7 separate regions of the Homo sapiens genome follow, and all the other regions are linked to region 4. Evidence: promoter capture Hi-C in 16 types of primary human blood cells and fetal thymus (Javierre and others, 2016). All regions are on one chromosome and are shown on one strand. The core of a region is centred on a gene start or on the middle of the fragment in contact, and the rest is flanking DNA. Distances in the headings are between cores, read along the strand shown.

Region 1 (3,317 bases), core at 260-2,759, 3.0 Mb after region 4:
ATGTCCATTAAATAGTATGGCTTAGTGGAAGATATAGCTATATAAACTAGAAATAATATATCTTGACAAGTGCTGTGATGAGGAAATTTTATGATACTATAGAAGCACTTAAAAGGATTACGTAACTATGACTTAAGGGACAAGAAAAGCTTCAGACCTCAGATTGTGATCTGAAAATTGAGATGAAACGTGTTCCATGTAGTTCAAGGGTTGGCACATAGAACCCAACATTTATTTGCCACTCTGGAGAAAATTGCGTCCCTCATGTAGGTCACGCCCTCAAACCAGACCTTGGGCTGTTTATCTCACCTCTAGACCTACTCATCTATCAAAGACTAGGACTATTGGGCAAAGATAATGCCATAAGAAACACAAGAACTCTAGCCACATACAGGTTAGAGCCAAGACTGATTATCTAGCAACTTTACCAACAGATAAACCCACCTACTCCAAATCCCTGCTATCTTTAGACAGTACCCAAGGAAAACCTTCTGGTTTGCTATCATCTCCCATGTCAGCAACCACAATATTCTGTGCTGCTTTTGCTTAACACAGTCACCTATTGCTACCCTCTATCCCAAACTTTTCACTATGTCAAATCCTAAGTAAAAAAAATCCTCTGTATCCAGTCCTCTGTTTTCTTCACCCATTTCATGCCTTTAAGTTTGTTTCTCCTCTCAAAATACTGTTTTTTCTGCAGTCCTCTCAAAAAGTTTCTCATTTTCTCATGCTGCAAGCTCTTCATTATTACCACCGTGAAGAATGTGCCATCAAGTCATAGCACACTCTCTTCTCCTAGTCGCTATGAGTCAACATAATCTACTTCTCCTACTTCTTTAAAGACCTTGGCAATAACTATCCACCTCTCCACTCTGTTCTTGCCTGGGAAACTCAAGATCCATACAAATGATGGGAGCTCTAATGAGTTCATTGGTTATGAACATGAACTCTTCTGGTTTTCCTCCTACTCTCTGGCATCTCCATCTCAATCTCATTACAGGATTTTCTTCTCTATATGTCCCTGTATTAGCAAACCAAATGTTGACTTCTTTTCCTCTCACTCCACACCGTCTCCTTGGTAAATACTGTCTCAGTTAACTGTGGATTCAATTAACATCTATGTGCTAATAAATACCGAATCTTTATCTCATCCAAATATCTCTCATGGGCTCCAGAGATGAATACCTAACCGTCTAAATAGATACTTTTTGATGACTCACAGACATCTAAATTCAATGCGTCCACAGATGAATTCATCATCTTTTCCCCAAGTGAGTTATTTGCTTTGAGAGTGATACCTAAATGCTCAAGCCAGAAATACAGGTTTCTTCTCTTACTCCCTTCTCCAGTTTCTCCGCACACCCACCTCAAGGCAATTTCTATACTTCCTTCTCCATTTGCCCTTTTTCTAACTTGTCACCATTTTATTCCTCAAGTTCACTGTCCTGCACCTCCTCCTGCCACCCCTTCAATCCATTCTTCACACTGCATCCATCCTGACTGTCCAAATATGCATCTGCTTATATCATTACCCTGATTTTTAAAAACAATGAAATAAAATGCTTAGTGGAACCCTTCTACCCTCAGGATAAAGTTCACAGGCCCCAGCGTAGCATAACATACTCTTCTGATTTGGTTCCTCATTAACTCTCCAACCTCATCTCTCATCCTCTCAACACCAATATGCCCCATTCATGCCAAACCACTGTGTGACAGGATCCAATGACAACGACAAATTTCATGAAACACGTATAATTCTACTTGTATCTAAGGTTAAAGGACTTTCTTATTAAGTGTCTGGGGGTGAAGGATGGGGTTTTTAAGGAAACCTATGTCAATGAACCCCATTTGTGTGCATAAAGATAACCAGTTGCATGTAGGTTTGATTTCTGCAGAATATAGGTAATTCCCAAGGGGACCAGCAGAGAAGAAGGAAAAAAAATGTTAGCTTCACCAGGCTCCTTAAATTATGACAACACTTACACATGACTGGCCCAGAATTTAGGCTGCAGTGAAGCATTTCTAATGGCTCAATTCCAAGGCTAATAGAGCCAAGCAACTCTTTGAGGATCCTCTATGTCCTCTCATTTTTTAAAACCCCAGATGCTAGCATATAATCAATGCTTAACTCTATGTTGCAGATCCTTTGCAGGGATTGTGCTCATATAACCTACATTTTCCAGGACAATTGTGATTTCAAATATTCTCCTCTGTAAACCATGGAAATGTTTCATAAATTACAATTTTATGAAAATAATAATGGAGAAGATCAAGAAAGTTAAGTATTGTAGTAAAATTTTAGATGTGAAAAGATGAATAGCACAAAAGAACTGAGACATCAGAGGCCAAGGAAGCATTGTGATACATTGTGAAAACAAAGTATACTATCCCATGTCATATACATCTAGGTATGTAATGTTAAATGTGTGTAACATGTGGCACCCTCAGATAAAAATAAATCATGTTAAAGTGACATTCTGCAAGGAAGCCACTTTCCTGGTTGGCACAATGTGAGGATCAGAATTGAAATGAAGAGTCAGATAGGTATTGTCTTGTTTTATTGTTTGTTTGTTTGTTTGTTTGTTTTATGATTCTTGGAACTTCATGAAAAAATTAATGGAGAAAATTGAAAACCTCAGTGAATTACATGAAAAGAAAACAATATACATTTTACTGTGAAGTTATGTATAGTAATTTATTACAACTTTTACTATTTTGACCACTGCAAGATATTTTGATAGACTCTTGTGACCTCACTTGTTCACTCCTTTAATGAATATTGAGCATCTCCTGTGTGTTGGACACTGTCCTAGGTACTTGGAATGTGAACCTAATGAAACAACACAGGTCACTGTCTTCAAGAAGCTTATATTCTAGCAGTGGACAGATAATACCAATAGGTTTGTAAATTAGTAAATCACATCAGATGTTAAAAGATGATAAATTTTATGCAAAAAAAGTAGTGTAGGGCAGAGGAATTCAGAGTGCCATTAAGGGAAAAGTGTAAGGCTGTAGTATTAATAGAGTGATCAAGGTAAGCTTTATTTGGAAGATAAAATTTGAGCAATCACTTGAAAAAGGTGAAAGAATTAAACAGACAGCTGGGGAAGCATGTTCCAGGCAGAGGGGACAGCTGGAGCAAATGCTCTAGGATGAAAGGACTTTTCACAGTTGTGATTTCACATTTGTATTTTGATCATTGTATTAATCTGCCTCCTTCCTTAGACAGTATCTCCAAAAAAGGTAAGAACCATATCTGCTTTGTTCAATTTTCTCTTAGCATCTAGACCAAGAATGCTCAGAAAATATATATACTG
Region 2 (3,368 bases), core at 245-2,744, 2.9 Mb after region 4:
GTTGTGGTGAGCCGAGATTGTGCCATTGCACTGCAGCCTGGGCAACAAGAGAGAAACTTCATCTCAAAAAAAAAAACACAAAAGCTTCACAATTTGATATATCTAGAATGATGGGTCTGGGTCAACAACTGTATACTCAATATTACTCTCATTTTGACTCTCTTCAGCACACCAGACACACTCAGCCATATCCAGAACTGCAGGTCTCCATTTCCTTCCCATAAAGCTTTCAAAGTACATACACTGAAAATATTGTAATGATTATAATTAGCATTCAAGTCCAGGGCAAGGCTTTCTTTGAGGGAAGGACTACAGAATGCAGATCTTTTAGAGCACTGACGGAAGAAAATTGCTCCTAAAAAAATGTTTTCTTTTGTTTTGTTATTTCACTTTAAGTTCCCCGATACAAGTGCTGAACGGGTAGGTTTGTTAGACAGGTGTACGCATGCCATGGTGGTTTGCTGCACCTATCAACCCTTCATCTAGGTTTTAAGCTCCACAGGCATTAACCATTTTTCCTAATGCTTTCCCTCCCCTTGACCCCCATGCCCTGACTGACCCCGGTGTACATTGCTTCCCTCCCTGTATCCAGGTGTTCTCATTGTTCACCTCCCACTTATGAGTGAGAAAATGTGGTGTTTGGTCCTCTGTTCCTGTGTTAGTTTGCTGAGGATGATGGTTTCCAGCTTCATCCATGTCCCGGCAAAGGTCATGATCTCATTCCTTTTTATGGCCGCATAGGGTTCCATGGTGTATATGTACCACATTTTTTTTATCCAGTCTATCATTGATGGGTATTTGGTTGGTTCCATGTCTTTGCTATTGTAAATAGTGCTGCAATAAATATATATGTGCATGTGTTTTTATAGTAGAATGATTTATATTCCTTTGGCTATATATCTAGTAATGCAATTCCTGGGTCAAATGGTATTTCTGGTTCTATATCCTAGAGGAGTCACCACACTGTCTTCCACGATGGTTGAACTAATTTACATTCCCACCAGCAGTGTAAAAGCATTCCTATTTCTTCACAGCCTTGCCAGCATCTATTGTTTCTTGACTTTTTAATAACTGCCATTCTGACTGGTATGAGATGATACTTCCTTGTGGATTTGATTTGCATTTCTCTAGTGACCAGTGACGGTGAGCTTTTTTCATGTTTGTTGGCCGCATAAATGTCTTCTTTTGAGAAGTGTCTGTTCATATCCTTTGACCACTTTTTGATGGGGTTGTCTGTTTTTTTCTTGTAAATTTGTTTAAGTTCCTTGTAGATACTGGAAATTAGATCTTTGTCAGATGAGTAAATTGCAAAAATTTTCTCCCGTTCTGTAAGTTACCTGTTCACTCTGATGATAGTTTCTTTTGCTGTGCAGAAGCTCTTTAGTTTGATTAGATTCCATTTGTTAATTTTGGCTTTTGTTACAATTGCTTTCAGCATTTTAGTGATGAAGTCTTTGCCCATGACTATGTCATGAATTGTATTGCCTAGGTTTTCTTCTAGGGCTTTTATGGTTTTGTGTTTTACATTTAAGTCTTTAATCCACCTTGAGTTAATTTTTGTATACGGTTTGAGGAAGGGGTCCAGTTTCTGTTTTCTGCATATGGCTAGCCCAGTTTTCCCAGGACCATTTATTAAATAGGGAATTCTTTCCCAATTGCTTGTTTTTGTCAGGTTTGTCAAAGATCAGATGGTTGTAGATGTGTGGTGTTACTTCTGAGGTTCTGTTCTGTTCCACTGGTCTATATGTTTGTTTTGGTACAAGTACCATGCTGTTTTTGTTACTGTAGGCTTGTAGTACAGTTTGAAGTCAGGTAGAATGATGCCTCCAGCTTTGTTCTTTTTGCTTAGGACTGTCTTGGCTATACAGGCTCTTTTTTTGGTTCCATATGAAATTTAAAGTAGTTTTTTTTAATTCTGTGAAGAATGTCAATGGTAGTTTGATGGGAATAGCATTGACTCTATAAATTACTTCAAGCAGTATGGCCATTTTGATGATATTGACTCTTCCTATCCATGAGGTTAGAATGTTTTTCCATTAGTTTGTGTTCTCTCTTATTTCCTTGAGCAGTGGTTTGTAGTTCTCCTGGAAGAGGTCCTTCACATCCCTTGTTGGCTTTATTCCTAGGTATTTTATTATCTTTGTAGCAACTGTGAATGGGAGTTCATTCATGATTTGGCTCTATGCTTGTCTATCGTTGGTGTATAGGAATGCTTGTGATTTTTCCACATCGATTTTGTATCCTGAGACTTTGCTGGGGTTGCTTATCAGCTTAAGGAGTTTTGGGGCTGAGATGATAGGGTATTCTAAATATAGAATCATGTCATCTGCAAACAGAGACAATTTGACTTCCTCTCTTCCTATTTGAATACCCTTTATTTCTTTCTCTTGCCTGATTGCCCAGGCCAGAACTTCCAATACGATGTTGAATAAGAGTGGTGAGAGAGGGCATTCTTGTCTTGTGCTGGTTTTCAAATGGAATGCTTCCAGCTTTTGCCCATTCAGTATGATATTGACTGTGGGTTTGTCATAAATGGCTCTTATTATTTTGAGATATAGTTCATCAATACTTAGTTTATTGAGAGTTTTTAACATGAAGGATGTTGGATTTTATTGAAGGCCTTTTCTACATTTATTGAGATGATCATGTGGTTTTTGTCTTTGGTTCTGTTTATGTGATGGATTACATTTATTGATTTGCATATGTTCAACCAGGCTTGCATGCCAAGGATGAAGCTGACATGATCACGGTAGATAAGCTTTTTGATGTGCTGCTTGATGTAGTTTTCTAGTATTTTATTGAGGATTTTTGCATCAATGTTCATCAGGGATATTGGCCTGAAGTTTTATTTTTTTTGTTGTGTCTCTGCCAGGTTTTGGTATCAGGATGATTCTGGCCTCATAAAATGAGTTATGAAGGAGTCCCTCCTTTTCAATTGTTTAGAATAGTTTCAGAAGGAATGGCACCAACTCATCTTTGTACCTCTGGTAGAATTCGGCTGTGAATCCACCTGGTCCTGGGGTTTGTTTGTATTTTGTATTTTTGTTGTTGTTGTTGTTGTTGTTTGTTTGTGTTTGGTTGGTAGGCTATTAATTACTGCCTCAATTTCAGAACTTGTTATTGGCTTATTCAGGGATTCAACTTCTTTCTGGTTTAGTCTTGGGAGGGTGTATGTGTCCAGGAATTTATACATTTCTTCTAGATTTTCTAGTTTATTTTCTTAGAGATGTTTATAGTTTTCTCTGATGGTAGTTTGTATTTCTGTGAGGTCAGTGGTGATATCCCCTTTATCATTTTTTATTTGATTCTTCTCTTTTCTTATTTGGCCAGCTAGTGGTCTATTTTGTTAATTTTTTCAAAAAACTAGC
Region 3 (3,528 bases), core at 975-3,474, 2.8 Mb after region 4:
CACGTTCCCCTGGGCTTAAAATAAAATTTAAAAAAAACAACTAGATATCCACATGCAGAAAAATGAAATTGGATCTCATCTCATACCACATACAAAAATCAACTTAAGATGGATAAAAGACTTATTAACATAAGACCAAAAACTGTAAGTTACTAGAAAGAAAGAAAGAAAAAATACAGAAGAGCTCCATTATATTGTTCTGGGCAATAATTTTTTGGATAAGATTCCAAAAGCCCAGGCAATAAATCAAAAATAAACAAATATGATTACATTCTATAAATTTGTATTAATGTTAATTTAATACATGACATCTTTGTAAATCATTCTTTTAGATGATATCTCTTGATGTGTTCCATAGGATAGAAGTCATAAATTTAAAGGTGGTGTTCAATCTATAAACCATAGCATTCTTATATTTTTAGTAAAGCATGAGAAAAGTTGAAGAGATTTCTTACAAGTGTATTTGTGTTTTATTACATGATAAAATTTCACCTTGCCAAAAGTGTTACTAGAACGAATTTTGTGATATTCTAGTTGCAAATTGTGATCATTTTCTTCCAGTTCTCTTGGCTCGCTAGGTATGCCTAAACATGCAAAATAGATTAGAGAATTGAGGTCATTATGCTAAGAAAATACTATATCTTTTTCAATTGAATTCTCCAAGTAACTGAGGCCGGATGTTTCAGTCATCTTAATAATTTAAAGAATTTCTTGACTTTCTAAACTTTCTTTGCACAGAGACTATCTAAAGAAAGCAGATGGCTTAGTCAAGTTTTTAACATCAGTTACTCTTGAATATTGAGATAATTTATTATGTTGGAGACTATCATGTATAGGAGTATAACGGAAGATGGGGATTTACCTTTGTAGGGGGTGTGTCATGTACCAGGCACATGCTTTGTGCTTTTTATACATTTAAACATTATACCAATCTTGCACAGGATTTCTATTTTTATTTTTTCAGAAGCAAAAATTCAAGCATAAGGAATTTAAGGAACTTGCTCAAGATAACATAGGTAGTAAGTAGCAAAACTGAAACTGAAATTTCCATTTGAATAATGAAGACAACATATTATTTTTAATTAAGTATGCTACTTCCAAAACTACATCAGTTGGAAAGATACTACAGAATCAGAAATAAAAGAAGACAAATTCCTAGGATCATTTCCCCCTACAATGTCACTAAAACCATAACCACTTCCAAATACAGTCATATCCCACATAAGGGTATTTCTGTTAAGGAGAGACTATATATACAATGGTTATCCAATAAGATTAAAATACCACATTTTTACTGTACCTTTTCTAATATATTTTCATTTTTTTAAAATTTAGTGGGTACATAATGGGTGTGTATATTTATGGGATACATGAGGTGTTTTGACACAGACATGCAATGTGAAATAAGCACATAATGGAGGATAGGGTATTCATTTCCTCAAGCTTTTATCCCTTGAGTTACAAACAATCTAATTACATTCCAAGTTACTTTAAAACCAAGGTGGGTGGATCACCTGAGGTCAGGAGTTCGAGACCAGCCTGGCCAACATGATGAAATCCCATCTCTATTAAAAATATAAAAATTAGCCAGGCATGGTGGCGGGCAACCATAATCCCAGCTACTCAGGAGGCTGAGGCGGGAGAATCACTTGAACCCCAGAGGCAGAGGCCGTGATGAGCCGAGATCACACCATTGCACTCCAGCCTGGGTGACAAGAATGAAACTTGGCTCAAAAAAAGAGTACAATTAAGTTATTATTGACTGTAGTCACCCTGTTGTGCTATCAAATAGTGGGTCTTATTCATTTTCTCTATTTTCTTTGTACCCATTAACCATCCCCACCTCCCCGCCAACCCCCTAACCATGCTTCCCAGCCTATGGTTACCATCCTTCTACCTTCTTTATGTTTAGATATACAGATATTTACCATTGTGTTCTGTTAGAGGAAAAACTTCAGCCGAATTAAATTTAAGGAAGTTTAATTGAGCAATGAACAATTCGCTAACCAGGCATCCCCCAGAAACACAGCAGATTCAGAGAGACTTCCATGCAGCCACATTGAGGAAAAAGATTTATAGACAAAAAAAAAAGGGAAGTGACATATAGAAATTGGAAGTGTGGTACAGAAACAACTGGATTGATTACATCTTGGTGTTTGCCTTCTTTGAACACGGTTTGAACAGTTGGCTACATTTGATTGCCCAAAACTCAGTGATTGGCACAGGTGTGGGCTATGGTTGGTTTACCCCTCCACTTGTTATATAGTTCATGATGTACACGAAAAACTTTAGGCCAAACTTAACTATGTAAGGAGGCAGTTTAAGGCTAAACTTGATGTAACAGTTCAATTGCCTATAGTATTCAGTACAGTGACATGCTGTACAGGTTTGTAGCCTAGGAACAGTAGGCTACACCATACCTAAGTGATAGTAGGCTATATAATCTAGGTTTATGTAAGTATACCCTATGATGTTTGCACAACGATGAAATTGTCTAATGACACATAGCTCAGAACATGTGACTGTTGTTAGGCAATGCACGACTCTATTTCCCTTTCACTCCAGAGTGGTTCATGGGGTGCTCACATTTACCTATGAGTAGTTGCCACCTTCCATTACACCCACTGACTTTTCTGCGCTTGGCACCACAGCTGCCACACTAGCCAAATGGAGAATTAAACTTCCCATCTACTTCCCAGAAAGGTGCTATTACAGGAATGCTTTTTGTTGTCAGTTCTGCTATTACTGCCTATTGATCTTTCATTGACTTTGTTCTTCATTGGCTCTGGCAGAGACTTTGCTCCTATCTGCTTCAATGATCACTGTGCAGACTTGGTATGAAGAAATGCCCTTCTTCTCTCAGCACTGCCTTGGGTCTCTGCTTTCTTAAAGAAACTTTCATGGCACTACTTTTTGGGAGTCACTCTTTATTGAGGTCATCTCTCCTTGAGACATTAGCACTACTCCAATGATAAAAACAGTTCCCCTCAGCTTGACTAAGCTTTAGACATATTTCTACCAGACAATGAGCCTCTGACCTTCCTTTTTTTAGAGCATTTACTTTAGAAAATCTGCAATTGTAAATTCTTTCTCTTCCCTTTTGAAATGTATGTCAATCCCTTCCCAGCTATTTTCCAGTTTTACAGTCTAGGAAATGTCTTTTTTAAGAACCTGGGAACCATCTCTTAAAATGTAAACATCAAAGGAGATGGCACCACTATATTTCAGTCTCTTTGAGAAGGTAGGAACCTAACTTTGATGGGTAACAATTAGCAAACACAGATGCCCTATTTGCAGAGAAAAACATTTGCAAACTCAGGAATAATTAAATGTGATCAAACTATCTCATTGATCAATCTATCCCCTAATGTCAACCAGTACTTTTCCACCAGCTCATCCAAGTGCTTAAAAACCCTTCTAACTTTTGTTTCAGTGAAGAAGAGTTCAGTCCCTTTCTTCTATTTCAATAGTCTTGAATACAGTCTTCTTTGGCTGGGCACAGTGGCCCATGACTGTAATCCCGGCACT
Region 4 (3,269 bases), core at 99-2,598:
AGAGATGTGGACAGGTGGTGCCAGAGAAGGAAGACTGCAGGGGAGCCGGGTATGGTGGGGGAGCCGGATGGGAGTTAAGAATTTTGTTGCAGGGATGACTTTTAGCTGCTAGGGCAGAAATCATGAGTCGTCCATCCTCCCTTATCTCCAAGTTAGGGATCATTCCCACCAGCAACGACCTCCACTTCACTTAAAAGAGAACAACTGATGGACATTTCTAAAAACTTAAAGTTTGGAATCATGCCATAAGGACGTCATTCCTGGCCCTGCCCCACTGGAGAATCATTAGGGTAAAAACTGCATTGTTAACCCGGGGTGAATGGACATGAGCTGCTCTTCTTTAGTGCTCCTCAGTCTGTCTCTAGGACAGGTTAATCCCCTTCCCATCCTGCCCCTTCAGAAAGGAGTAAAGTCCTAAACATCAAAAGGAAAAGAAATTTCTAGGTTGAAGCCACAGAATAGGCCACTCCCGAAAGTTAGGGCAGAATCACAAGCTCCATTTTGTCCATTTCTCATCTAAGGTTAAAAGAGTCTGTCTGTCATCGTCCGGTTTGATAGGAGGCTCCGGTCCCGCCTGGTTGGGGGAGCGACCACACGAAGCGCGGGTGGCGGGCAGGGTCCAGCCCCACCGGGACCCTGGGCCTCCTCTTCAAGGGTCTCCGCGAAATGCTCGGAAGTTGTGTGCTTCATTTAAAAGGGGGAGGCCGGTTCCGTGGCAAGCGGCTGGTTGACAATTCCCTCCTTCAACCTGATGTCTAGAGAGGGCGGTGGCTTGGAAAGCTACGACTCCACCCGCGGCTCCACAGCGCCAGGTGACAACATGGGAGCGCTCGCTGGGCCGCAGCCGCGACATAGCTGGGCAGCAAAAACGAAACAGCCGGCGCCATGGGAGTGTCCCGGTGGGTGTGGCATCCAGGCTAGAAAAGCCTTCTGACCACCACTGCCCGCGAGACGACCCCGGCTGGGGGTATTCCCCTAGCAGCGGCCTCCTCCTCACGCGCGTTCCGGGTACCCCTGTCTTGGGGTTCCGGGGCTCACGCTAGAACCTCACCGGGGCCCCAGGTCTGGGCGCGCGTGGCGGAGAGCGCATGCGCATTGCTCGCACGTACCCGGAACACTCCCCGCCCCGCCCCTCCCCTCCCGTCGGGTGAAGGCTTGGGTACCCCCGTGGCCGGTACCTGAGGCGCCAGCGTCCGTGAGGCCAGCGCCCGAGTCAGGGCGCTTCTGAGGACGAGCATGGCGCGGCTTCGGCGCTGAGAAAAGCAGCCAGCCGTGTCCTTTCTGAGACTCCTCTGAAGGTTTCCCGAGTGGAAAGGAGCGGCTCCTGGATCATTGGCAGACGCAGGCTGGGGCGGGGCTCGGCGGGGTCAGCTCCACCCCGGCGCGGGAGGCGCGGCGGGTCCCGTAGCTTGGTGTCTTTCTCTGCTGTGCTGAGCGTTGGTTCCCCCTTGGTTTCCTGAAACGTTCTTACCCCAAACGTTAGAGGTGACGTTAGGATTAACTGAAGGCTCGGATCGTTCCTGCTTCAACTTTCTGGGCCCTCACTCACCTCATTCGCTCCAGTGCTCAGTTGTGTAGATTGGTAAATGTGCAGGGGTTGTGGGTGTGTTGACCATGGGGAAAGAAGGAGAGGTGTTGAGTGCGTGCATGTGCAGTGCTTTGTATTTAAAATCGTGGAGGTTTTTTCCGAGTTAAGTTTTAGATGTTGTGATAGACGTGTATTTGAGCCTGACCTCTCTGCAATGAATGTGTTCTCCATCTTAGAAGGCTCCTAATTAAGATTTAGATTAAATTTTCCACGAGCTCAGAGAAATGGCAGCATCGAGCCTGAAATGAAAAAGTCAAAGTTAAACATACCCTGGTCTAGTCCTCCCAGTCCGGGAGTGTTGGTTCCCAGAGTAACCACCTTCAACATTTCAAGCTGTTTCATTTAATGCTTGTTTCTGTATTTTTAAGTAAGTAGTGTTTTCTGCTGTTTATTGCATTTTCAGTTATGGATAGTATGTGTTGACTTCCTTCTGTGGCAGATGAGGATTTATGTCTCATAGATGCCACTGCCCCCAAATTCACTTGTCTTCCTGCATCTAATAATGCTTATGTTAATTTACAGTAATTAATTACACTATTAATTTACAGTAATCTATATTAATGTTTACATTATTCTTGCTAATAATTACATTATTGTAAACATTAATGTAATATTGCTTACATCATGAGGACTAGGGAGGGATTGCAGGGCCATGACCTGGGTTGTATTGGTTGTGCCTTGTGGAAGAGCTTTGGAATTGTCTGTTCAAAGGAAGGGAGACTTTTTAAAATTAGTTATTTCGGAAGGGTTGCCTCAGTTTTTCTAGAAGAGAGACATCTATTTGTAACCATGCAAGACTAAAAAAATCATTTGTATCAGGACTGGATCTATATGAGTAAATTATTTTCTTAGACCTTTTTTTTTAAACCCTGTAATTGCCAATCCATTTACTTATTCAACAGATATTTACTAAATTCCTTCCATGTTCCAGGCACTTTTCCAGAAACTGGGGTACAGAATTGAGCAAAATTCAAAGTCCCGTCCTCTTGGAACATCCAGGATGGAGGAAACAGATAAAAAAAGGAAGAGTAAATATATCAGGGATTGTCAAATAATATAAAGAAAAATAAAGTAAGATACGAATAAAGGTGCTAGTGGAATTCTAAAAGTGGTCAGGATTCTAGCTATTGACTTGGATATTTAGGATTTAGGTTTCTTCATACCACTCCCTCAAAATACACTTTCCTTCCTGCGTTTATTGATGTTTACATTAAAAATATATTTTGGAGTGAGAAAAACATGTTAAAAGCACTGTAAGCACAGGTGAATCTCTTCAAATAGTGGGCTTCACTGTGAGGTGATCTGACCTGGGTATTTCACTGAAGGCTGTATCCCCTCCCCCCAAACTGTTATCTGCAAGTTATTTATCTGTGTAGTCAGTGTTAGGGAAGGGAAACTTCCAGTATCTTATCTGTGTGAGAAAAGCCTTGCTGCCAGTTTCCTGAGGCTGAGGAGGGAAGAAGGCCAGAACACTCAGCATTTGGTAGTATCTTTCAATAATATATTAATTAGGGTAGATTAAATAGCTCTTGTAAATCAACACTCAAAAAAGTGTATTATTACTCAAACACTATAGGAGTTTATTTTTTATAAGAATACAAAGTGGGTTTTTCTAGTTGGCAGGTAGCTCTTCTATACTTAGTGAATTAGGGAGCCAGGCTTCTACCCGGTGGCTTTGCCA
Region 5 (3,119 bases), core at 35-2,534, 2.1 Mb after region 4:
ACAATTAACTGGTTTTTGTCTTACTTCTAAAAGATGAAATATCAGCAAAGAAAAACATTCAATAATAAAATTTTAAAGTATAAATACATTTGGAAAGTTGGGAAATACTCTATTAGGATGTAAATGGCCAGAAAAAGAGGTCTGTACTGGTATTTCTATTCTAAAATGAATTTATTTTCACTAATATGAAAAAACAATAAAGACTATATTTTTAATGAATTTAAAGGTATTATGTTTTCTCTCTTTTACCCATGTCAATCATTGATGTATTTCCCAAATTGCTATTCTCCTCAACTGTTAGATAAATATCCCTACCTTTTAAAGCTGTATATAACAGCTGGAAATTCTCCCCAGGTAAGATCTGACTAAAATGAGCTTAAGACAAAAGAAGCATATTGGAATTTTGTTTCCCATATGCCTCACTGTTATGAACAACTAGGAGAATTGATTTAATGAGAAGAAAAAAACTTAGGCAAATTAAACATAGTGAATATCAATCTAGTAAAAATAAGACAGGCAAATCGATAATGACAGTAGTTAAGGCAGTCAGCTACGTTTAATGGCTAATTTAGGACCAAGTCAAATTGTAGAGGAGACTAATGAACCATAATGCAAATCATACAATACAGTGAAAGTTGCAAAACATGTGCAATTAGCACACATGTTGGGGACATCAGTCTGAGATTCCTAAATATAATATGAAGCTGTTGTCAAGAGAAGATTGGAAACTGGACTTGAATGCCCAGGTATGCAGCTAAATCATCACTTCAAAACAAACAAACAAAAAAAACCCATCAGGTGGAAAGTAATCCAATCAGGCAAAATCTTGTATCTCTCTATCCAGGACTGTCACAAAATAAAATTATATCTAAAAATCAATCACTTGACTCAGAACTGTGTTTTTAACAGTATGTGTCTCATAATAGGATAGATTGACAGTTGCCATGCTGAATTTACAAAGGGAAATAGAAGTTGATCATATTAACTGTGAAGCTTCTATTTAAATAATAATTACATGTGGGTCTTTAGTGACAACCCTCATCCTTAGTAAAATTGGTTTAGTTTTGTTACTTCATCCAGTGACCACAAGATCCAACTAGCTTCTTCGGACCCTCTCTCTACCACTGCTTTTTGACCCTCTGAACATTTCATAGGGTTGTGAATATACTATATTGTTTGATTAGTAAGCGTACTCTAAGTTGTAAAAGACAAAACAAATTTGAACTAATTTAAGTTAAAAGAAGATAGGATTATATTAAAGGATCAGTAGAGTGGAAGTGAGGAATCTGGGACTGAATGCAATTGTCTCAATTCTGTGAAAACTATGAGGCTGGAAACATGAAATTAGTTATTTCTGGACTCACACATTCTCGGCTTCACCTCCTCTGAAAAACCTCAGGGAAAAATCTCTGATTAGCTTTGAGTGAAGAAATAACTAAGAGAAAAAGAATTTAGAAGTTTGTTTTCAAGAAATGCAAGATTGTCAGACTTAGAAGGACTAAATAATGAAATAGAAAACACAAGATGTGTTTCAATGTTTTAAAAAACACATTATTACCAAAATTATAAAGCTTGCTGTTAGTCTATTCAAGTTTGAAAAAAATTCTTATGGGAGCTGGGAGTGATGATAAACTCCTATAATCCCAGCTACTCAGAAGGCTAAGGCAGGAGGGTCACTTGAACTCAGGAGTTTGAGGTTGCAGTAAGCTGTGATCATCCCACTGTACCGCAGCCTGAGCAACAAGTAAAACCCTAACTCATAAACAAAACCTGATCATTATTATATTTTCAGAGGAGGTGATATGTCTTCAGATATCAGCATTTAAAAAGTCAGTGATAAAATACTTTCCTTGGAGAGTCAATAACGTTATAGGAAAGGCTCAGAAATCAACTGAGTTTGGGAGCTGGAAAAAAAAAAAAAAACCTGTTATGTTTGGAATATCTCAGAATGTAAAGTGCACCCTATCCACCTACTACCAAGGGATATGCTATTCACACTTATTCCTAATGTTGGCAGAAAATGTGTTAGTTTTGTTCCCACGTTCTCTACTTTTCAAGTTTCTGTCCCTAAAACATAGATTTAATCCCGTAAGTTTGTTCTGTAATTTTGTATATAAAAATCATCAATTTTATACTTTATTTGATCAATTTTATTTGCATAGGTGTGACAAAAGGTGTTAATTCACAAAGTTTTTTTCTTTTTTTGCTTAGCAAAATTAGAGCCATATCCTATTAATTTTCAGAAATTAAAACTGTCTAGAGACCTCATATGATCCCTATGCTTATAACTCTACCCTACACATCAGAAATATTTTCTTTTTGTGATTATTGGCTCATCAACTGAGATCACGAACAAAGAACAATTCCGTTCACCTCATTTGGGTTATACTATAGTAGCTGTAATTTTATCAAACTTACAAACACTCTAGCAGAGTTTTCTTCCTATCTCATCTGCTGTGGTTTGAGTTTGCCACACCAAAGCTCATGTTCAAATTTAATTCCCAACCTGGTGGTGTTGGGAGGTGGGGCCTAGTGGAAGGTATTTGAATCATGGAGGTGAATCCTGCATGAGTGGCTTGGTGTGTTCTTACAGTAAGTGAGTTCTTACTCTGGAGAGAAAAGATTAGTTCTCTTAGGAGCAGATTAATTTCCATAAAAGTGCATTGTTAAAAAGCAAGATTCCTCCTTCTGTTCGGTCCTCTTTCTTTACATTTGTTCACTTCTCTGACCTTATCTGTCATGTTACAATGCAGCACAGAAACCCTCACCAGAAGTGAGGGACATGCTTTTGAACTTCCCAGACTGTCAAACCATGAGCTAAATAAATTTCTTTTCATTATAAATTACCCAGGCTCAGGTACTGTGTTACAGCAACACACAATGGACAAAGACACATTATATCTTATTCTCTTCCATTGCAGACCAGTCATACTGTGGGTTAATTTAGGCCTACAACTTTGTTTTATTAATGGCTTGTCAGCATTCAAACTTACTGTTAATTCTTGACTTCACTAATTTTTTGTTTCTCTGGGACATTTCTCAGAGGCCTGACAAATGGCAGTGAACATACCTCTTTGAGATCCTGATTTAAATTGTTTTGGATATATATATATATCCAG
Region 6 (3,214 bases), core at 257-2,756, 2.8 Mb after region 4:
CAGCTGTCTCCATCAGCTGCAATATTTTTGGCAGGATAAAATAACACCCTGCATCTCTTTGTTGAAACAGTATCTTAAGGACACAGAAATGTGAACCACAGCCTAAAAAGATGCCCTACTTTATTGGCAACATTATGTCATGGCTAACATTTGTAAATCATTCATAACAGATGCCAGCAAGAGGAACTCATTTTTCAAGATTTAAGATATGAGGCCCAAATGGGAATCAATTGCTCTCTAGCATGCTCTCAAACATCTCCTTACATTTATAACAAAATTGTTCCAGTCAATGCAGCCTTCTGGGAGCTAATCTCTGTGTGGAGCAGCTCATGATCCACCCATAGTGTTCCCCCCAGCTTCCATTCCTGCCACTAAATGGAGTAAAGGATCCTAAAAATAGCAAAGCCTTTGTTCAGACTTCAAGTCTGATTGTAAGCTAGTTCTTTCTATGGATGGCTTCATAAGCCTTGAACTGCCACCTTTCTCAGAAATGTTTTAAAGTCTCCTTTTCATACCCCAAAAGATACATCGAATCTAAACAAGCATATTTCTTAACAATTTTAAAGTACCATTTTTACTTTCACATTTTAAAATAGGATATGACCTGAAGATTAAAATGCAGTCCTATATTTATGATATGGAGGTGGAGAGAAGTACAAAATTCACCCAGGGAGAAAACAGTCCTACCCCTTTTAAAATCTAATCAGGATCATGCCCTTTGAGCAACTTGGAATTTTAATGTGAGGAGAACCATTTTTTCTCCCAGAGTAAGAAATTTTTGGTGTTTTTTTGTTTTTGTTTTGTTTTGTTTTTTTTACCATGATTAAGGAAGTTTTCTGGAGAAGAGAAAAAAAAGACATCTTTTAAAAAATCGTGGCTTCAAGAACATCCCGGCTTTCTAAAATTAAGAAATGTCCTACCAAGAAATTTCTCTGTGATATTATTTTCATTTGCTTTTCCTTTTCCTCATAGTGGTAAAAAAAAAAAATGCAGGAACTCATATGGATGACCGGTCACTCAAAAGCTTTCTCAGTATAGGTTCACTTTCCTCAACCATAAAGTCTAATACAAAATCCTATCTTGCTCAACATTGTATCATCGTGTGGTAGGGTGTCAATTAGCAACTTATTTCCTCTCCACTCCATATGCCCTCTTTAATATATACACTGTGATAAGCACTGGAGTTCCTTAAGCATCTCCCCTTTAAAGTGAACATGATGTTAAGCTCCCGCAGAGGCTGCTTGAGGGACATAACAGAAGGAAGAGCCTCTTCTGCATTTTCCAATGTGGGCAGGGGCTAAGTGGTGTGGATGTAAGGACATCCTATGGAACACTGCTCAGCCATACACCCAAAACACAATCCTCCACAACCTGGCAGCCTCAGCCTTTTGATAACACATAGAAAGCAGAGCTCCCAGGCAGAGGACATAATCTCAAGGCCTCCTGGCTCAGCTGGCACCTACATACTCCCACATGACCCATATGCTATAAAGACCTTTTGCCTCCACTAACGCCTAGGTTTCCACTGCACACCTATACCACCAATTTCTGGTCACCTGCAACACCACCTGGATTCTGGAGTATTGCCTATTTTCCACCCAACAACTCCAGACCAACCCAGCCAAATCAATCAACTTCTCTGCTAACTTGTAGACTAAACCACACCGTTTCCAGCAAAGTCTGAACCTCTTCCAAGTTTGTACTTCCCTAGGTACTCTCCTGCAGCTTTATGGTGTCAATACATAGGGCTTTCTTATATCTCATAGTTACTCTTTTATCATAGTTAAAGATTGTTATATTAAACTTTCCTGTCTAACTTACTATACGGTTTCTGTCTTCTGATTGGACCCAGACTGCTACATGTAGCGTGCTTGGAACATAGTAGGACCTCAGCAACAGGCTAACACTGCCTCTGGGGGGTTCTGCTTATCCACTTGTTTTCTATTTATTCGCCATTTTTATGTCATAATTTTTTTTCCTAAGCTTTGTAATTTTCCCCTATCCTGACTTCTCCTACCTACTCGACCACCAAGCAATCTCATATATTGCATGAAGATTAAGCTTACTAGAATACAACTCTGACATCATACACATGCAAATGCTAATTTTTATTGAGTGCCTATAAGACAAACACTATTTCAAATGCTTTAAATGTAGCATTATTACATTTCACAACACTTCTGAAAGATGGATGTTATTTCCCAATTTTTAAAATGTGCAAAATGAGGCTCAGAGACGTTAAAAACTTGTCCAATATCACATAGTTATTAATTAATACAGCCAGGACCATAAATATATTTTATTCTAAGGCTGTGCTTATTACATCTATGATTTAAGCAACTCTCTGTTTTAAAAAGCACTTATTAGTATCTTTTGCTCTCTGGGCCGAAGGCAATTGTTATCTTGATTATAAAACTTTCTCTGATTTTTCTTTCTCTGTCCCTTATAGCACATTTAGTAGATATCTAATAATACCCATTAGTCTTGAATTATATCTATATATGCTACGTACTTTGAATTCTAAGACGAAAAATTTTTTTAAAAATTTGTTTTTGTCAAGATCTTCCCACCTGAGCTCCTGAAATATTATTTTTTATCTTATCAAGCACACACAAAAAAGATAGCTGATGAAACTATAAAGTTGTATATCAATTAATATATTTTTAAACACATTACTAATTCAGGTCAAGGAAAGGAGAAGAAGTAAATATGCTAGCACTGTGGCTGTTAAAATGAAGTATTTTAATTTATTTTCAGAATTCCAACAACTTGACAAAAACGTATCTATATCTATACACAGGTAGATATTAACATTATATAACAAAGTACTCATTATTAGAAAGGAAGAAAAACTGCATTTATTTCTATTATTAGACTATAAAATACAGTAGCGTTTTATTTTCCTATCAGTATAATCCCACTACCTAGCACAATGTCAGGCAAACAGTTGTTGCCCAATAAATGATAGATAACATAAATCACATTTAGAGCCATAAAACAAGTCTCAATAAAATTAAAATTATTCAAGTAACATAAATTATGTTCTCTGATTGCAATGAAATTAAAAAAATAAAAAAATCAATTATGAAAAGATTTCTGAAGATTTACCAATATTTGGAAATTAAATTATATACTCAACAACTCATGGGTCAAAGTAGAAAGCAAGGACAAAATTATAAAGTATTTTGAACTAAATAAAATATAAATGTGTATC
Region 7 (3,202 bases), core at 574-3,073, 2.5 Mb before region 4:
ACATATAAATATTCTGAAATCAAATAATTTTGTACCAAAATCCCAAAAAGGCTGTTTCTTAAAAAATTAAAGATGTACAAAACTTAAGATTAAATGAGATAAGTAAAACGTAACACTGTATCTCCACTCAAAGGAATCCATTGTTTAAATAATCGATTCCATTTACTGACCACCAAGTAAATACATACCATCTAATCTTCACATCTCTGCAAGGCAGGTATTATCCCTATTATACAGAGAATGAAACTAACCGTAATTTGCCCAAGGTCATAGCAAATAAGTTACAAAACCACAAATGGAACTCAGGTCTACTTAACACCAAAGCCCCTGATCTCCACCCAAAATAGAATCAACTACTTTTAAAAATAGAGTTGGGCAGAAAGCTGCTGGTTTAAACTTAGTATTATGACAATCTTGGCGGTGTATTTCCGAACATAAGCAGTAAATTTACACTCACAGCGTTTTTAGATTCTTGGCATAAAGTTGTACTGACCTCAACAGTGTCTCTTTATGCAGTCACAAATACAGAAAAATGTATAATGTGGACTTCTGAAATGTTTAAGGCTTTAACTGCAGAAAGGATTCAAAGTTGTTGTTTTTTGTTTTTTTTTTCTTTTTTCCCCCTTGAACTGCTACTGTTTGGGGCATCGGGGGAGGGTGGCTGCAGCGTTCCAACTCCTACAATTCCAAGATTTCTAACACAGAAAACCCGTTAAATCTGAAGTTTAGTTTGAGCCTGGATGGCTGTGAAGAGCTCTAACAGCTAAAACCATCACCAAAGAGGCCTCAAAGTGCAATCTACGCAAGGGTGTGGGTTTGGTGGCGGGAGGAAGGCAGCAGAACGATTCATTTGCAAATAAAAGGGTAAACAATTCTGAGGGGAAAGGGGCAAATTCATTTTCACCACCACTCACCTCTCGGCGGCAAACGGAACCTGATACTTTTTTTTTTCTTAAGGCTCATCTTCTCGGGTTACCAACTCTGGGAACTAAGCGGCTAACCAGGTCCACACAGGGGTAGTGGCGACGCCTACGTCTCCCTCCCCCACCTGTGCACCCATACCAGAAAGCCAGGCTCTACGGCTGAGACGGCCTGGACCTTCCCATCCCCCTCCGGCCCCGCTAGCACGAGCTCCTAGGCCCAGGCCCGCGGGCGTGCGCTCCACGCCATCTGCCACCAGGCCTTCGGCGTCCGGCCACTGCTTCCCCATTCTCCTGCCACAAAGCCCACGGCCAAGACAGGAGGATCGGCTCCGCTGTACGCCGCCAGGGCCGGCACCAGGACCCAGGGCCCTCATCGCGCCCTCCGGGGCTTCCCCCGCTGGAGCGCGCCGCCCGGCCCCACGAGCTCCTGGCGCTCCCCGCGGCCCGCACGCGGCTGCCCCTGCCCCCGGCCCGCGCGCATACCGTCTCCTCGGGGTCAATGTCTATCTTGAAGGTCTGCTGCTGGAGGGTCTTCAGGGTGACCTGCATGGTGCCGCCGCGCAGCTCGGCTGCCGGGCCTGCGCCGGGTGCTGGCCGCTGGGCGGGGTCTGTGGCCTGGCGGGGCCCCGGGGTCGCCCGCGCTCCTCGCGCTCTGGGGAGGAAGGCGGTGGGGGTGGGGGCTTGTCACATTCGCCCAGCGGAGCGGCCTCTCCCCCAGCCCGTGCCCCGGACCGCGCCGCTGCCTCCGCGACTGCGGCCTTCCCCGCGAACTCGGGCCGCCGTGCTTCCTCACGCGCCGAGCGCCAGCCACGGAGTCTGCAGAAGGCGCGAGGGGGTCGGCGAGACAAGCAGGGAATCCGCTAGCTCACCACAGGATGGTGGCCGCCATCATCGTGACTCGCCGAGACGTGCCCCCTCCCCCACGCGAAAAACCTGGGGGGATGGGGCCGGGCGGGCGAAGCGCGCAGGCGTGGGGTGCGGCGACGCTTTGCGCCGGCGCGGCCGAGGACTCCGCCCCAGAATTGGGGGCGGGGCGGAAGGCGGTCCTGGAATGTCGGCGGCCTGGACCCGGATTACGCAGGCGCGTTCCGTGGGCGGCAAGGGCTCCTGGGGCTTCCTCCTAGCGACTATTGCTGGGGCGTTCTCTCCGGCTGCCGCGGCTCCGCCTCTGTGCAGGCTCCGCCCGGCTGCCGAAGTTACGCAATGTGTAGCCCGGGAAGCGCTTCGTGGAGACCCGGCAGAGTGGATGCGGAGCCCTGGAGCGGGGGAGTAATCGGGGCGGAGTTTAAGTGAAAGGATGGCGGTAACCACAGTCTGGGGGCCAGCACCCGCGGGGCGCTTGCTGCGGGGCTCAGCCCTGGGGGTGTCGACTGATTCTTTAATCCCGACAGCACAGACTCCTGAGCTGGACTGCCCGAGTTCAAATATTGTTTTTTCTCACTAGCCTAAACAGATGGACCGATTTAAAATGAAGGTCAAGTTCTGTCACACCTCGGGGTAGAACTGTCCAGTGTTTCCCCATCTAGCCCCGAGTTAAAGTCAGAGTTATTAGAACGGATGCATTAGCCCCTCGCCTTTCTCCGAGTCGCCTTACTCTCCCCACTGGTGGATTCTAGGTTGCCCCCGGCTCCCTTAACATCCTTGCTCAGATATTGCCTTCTTGGTGAGGTCTGTTCTGGCTGCCTTACTTAAAATCCCAACTTCCTATCTCTGTTATCCTGCTCTGTTTTCTTGTATAGCGGGTATCCCTTTATAATTACCCTGTAATGTACGTATCTCTTGTTTATCATCTTTCTCCTTTTCCTGTGAACCCCAGACTGAAGCTGCACAGAGGCAAAGATTTTGCTGTGTTCACCCATGAACATGCCTGGCACATTGCAGGTGCACGGTAAATATTTGTGGAATGGGTGAATGTGCTTCTGGATCCTCAGCAGTAGAATGAGAATAATAATGTCACTCATTGATTATTGGAGGGGGAAGTTGAATATTGTATGTAAAATCATGATAAACAGTCTGTAAGCAGTTAGCTATTAGTAGAAAGTCCGTTTACAGATAGAAAACTGAAGTACAGAGATGTTGAGTAATGCACCTGGAATAACCCAGCCAGTAGTAAATGGCAAATCCACAATGTGACCTCAGACAGAATGACTCCAGAGTCTGTGTCCCAGGGTGTGCCACTATTCCCCTGTTTTTTGTTTTAAAGATTATTCTTATTTTTTTAAAGCGTCTGACTGTCATCCACGCTGGAGCGCTGTAGCACAAACACGGCTCACTGCAGC

Evidence for each region. Contacts are between HindIII fragments. The CHiCAGO score rates a contact against its expected background, and 5 or more counts as called.
Region 1: a fragment that was not itself captured here is called in contact with the fragment with the promoter of NIPSNAP3A in region 4 in 3 of 17 cell types (naive CD8 T cells, erythroblasts and fetal thymus); the score reaches 9.4 in naive CD8 T cells.
Region 2: a contact is called between a fragment that was not itself captured here and the fragment with the promoter of NIPSNAP3A in region 4, in 1 of 17 cell types (erythroblasts). The highest score is 7.4, in erythroblasts.
Region 3: a fragment that was not itself captured here is called in contact with the fragment with the promoter of NIPSNAP3A in region 4 in 13 of 17 cell types (naive B cells, naive CD8 T cells, M2 macrophages and 10 more); the score reaches 16.0 in naive B cells.
Region 5: a contact is called between a fragment that was not itself captured here and the fragment with the promoter of NIPSNAP3A in region 4, in 3 of 17 cell types (M2 macrophages, M1 macrophages and M0 macrophages). The highest score is 14.3, in M2 macrophages.
Region 6: a contact is called between a fragment that was not itself captured here and the fragment with the promoter of NIPSNAP3A in region 4, in 12 of 17 cell types (naive CD4 T cells, total B cells, M2 macrophages and 9 more). The highest score is 16.8, in naive CD4 T cells.
Region 7: a contact is called between the fragment with the promoter of RAD23B here and the fragment with the promoter of NIPSNAP3A in region 4, in 3 of 17 cell types (non-activated CD4 T cells, activated CD4 T cells and total CD8 T cells). The highest score is 16.7, in non-activated CD4 T cells.

Annotation. Positions count from the first base shown.
Region 1 is chr9:101,788,529-101,791,845 of GRCh38, reverse strand. No RefSeq gene overlaps it. Among named protein-coding and RNA genes, the nearest start is that of GRIN3A, 52 kb to the right of the region's middle. The HindIII fragment of the contact is 2,716 bases long and covers 152-2,867 here.
Region 2 is chr9:101,836,966-101,840,333 of GRCh38, reverse strand. The region is part of intron 1 of LOC105376187 (a long non-coding RNA gene); the gene reads left to right. Among named protein-coding and RNA genes, the nearest start is that of GRIN3A, 100 kb to the right of the region's middle. The HindIII fragment of the contact is 2,532 bases long and covers 229-2,760 here.
Region 3 is chr9:101,983,725-101,987,252 of GRCh38, reverse strand. No RefSeq gene overlaps it. Among named protein-coding and RNA genes, the nearest start is that of GRIN3A, 250 kb to the right of the region's middle. The HindIII fragment of the contact is 1,558 bases long and covers 1,446-3,003 here.
Region 4 is chr9:104,745,762-104,749,030 of GRCh38, reverse strand. NIPSNAP3A (nipsnap homolog 3A) reads right to left here and starts at 1,348. Exons shown (of 6, transcript NM_015469.3): 1 at 1,179-1,348. The coding sequence starts at 1,238. LOC107987105 (a long non-coding RNA gene) reads left to right here and starts at 1,392. Exons shown (of 5, transcript XR_007061705.1): 1 at 1,392-1,582. RefSeq lists an enhancer at 785-944 and a silencer at 1,365-1,454. The HindIII fragment of the contact is 7,745 bases long and covers 1-3,269 here.
Region 5 is chr9:102,635,297-102,638,415 of GRCh38, reverse strand. All of the region lies in intron 3 of LINC00587 (long intergenic non-protein coding RNA 587), which reads right to left. Among named protein-coding and RNA genes, the nearest start is that of LINC00587, 120 kb to the right of the region's middle. The HindIII fragment of the contact is 578 bases long and covers 996-1,573 here.
Region 6 is chr9:101,963,695-101,966,908 of GRCh38, reverse strand. No RefSeq gene overlaps it. Among named protein-coding and RNA genes, the nearest start is that of GRIN3A, 230 kb to the right of the region's middle. The HindIII fragment of the contact is 959 bases long and covers 1,027-1,985 here.
Region 7 is chr9:107,281,900-107,285,101 of GRCh38, reverse strand. RAD23B (RAD23 nucleotide excision repair protein B) reads right to left here and starts at 1,823. Exons shown (of 10, transcript NM_002874.5): 1 at 1,407-1,823. The coding sequence starts at 1,472. RefSeq lists a silencer at 1,285-1,844 and an enhancer at 2,335-2,494. The HindIII fragment of the contact is 9,258 bases long and covers 1-3,202 here.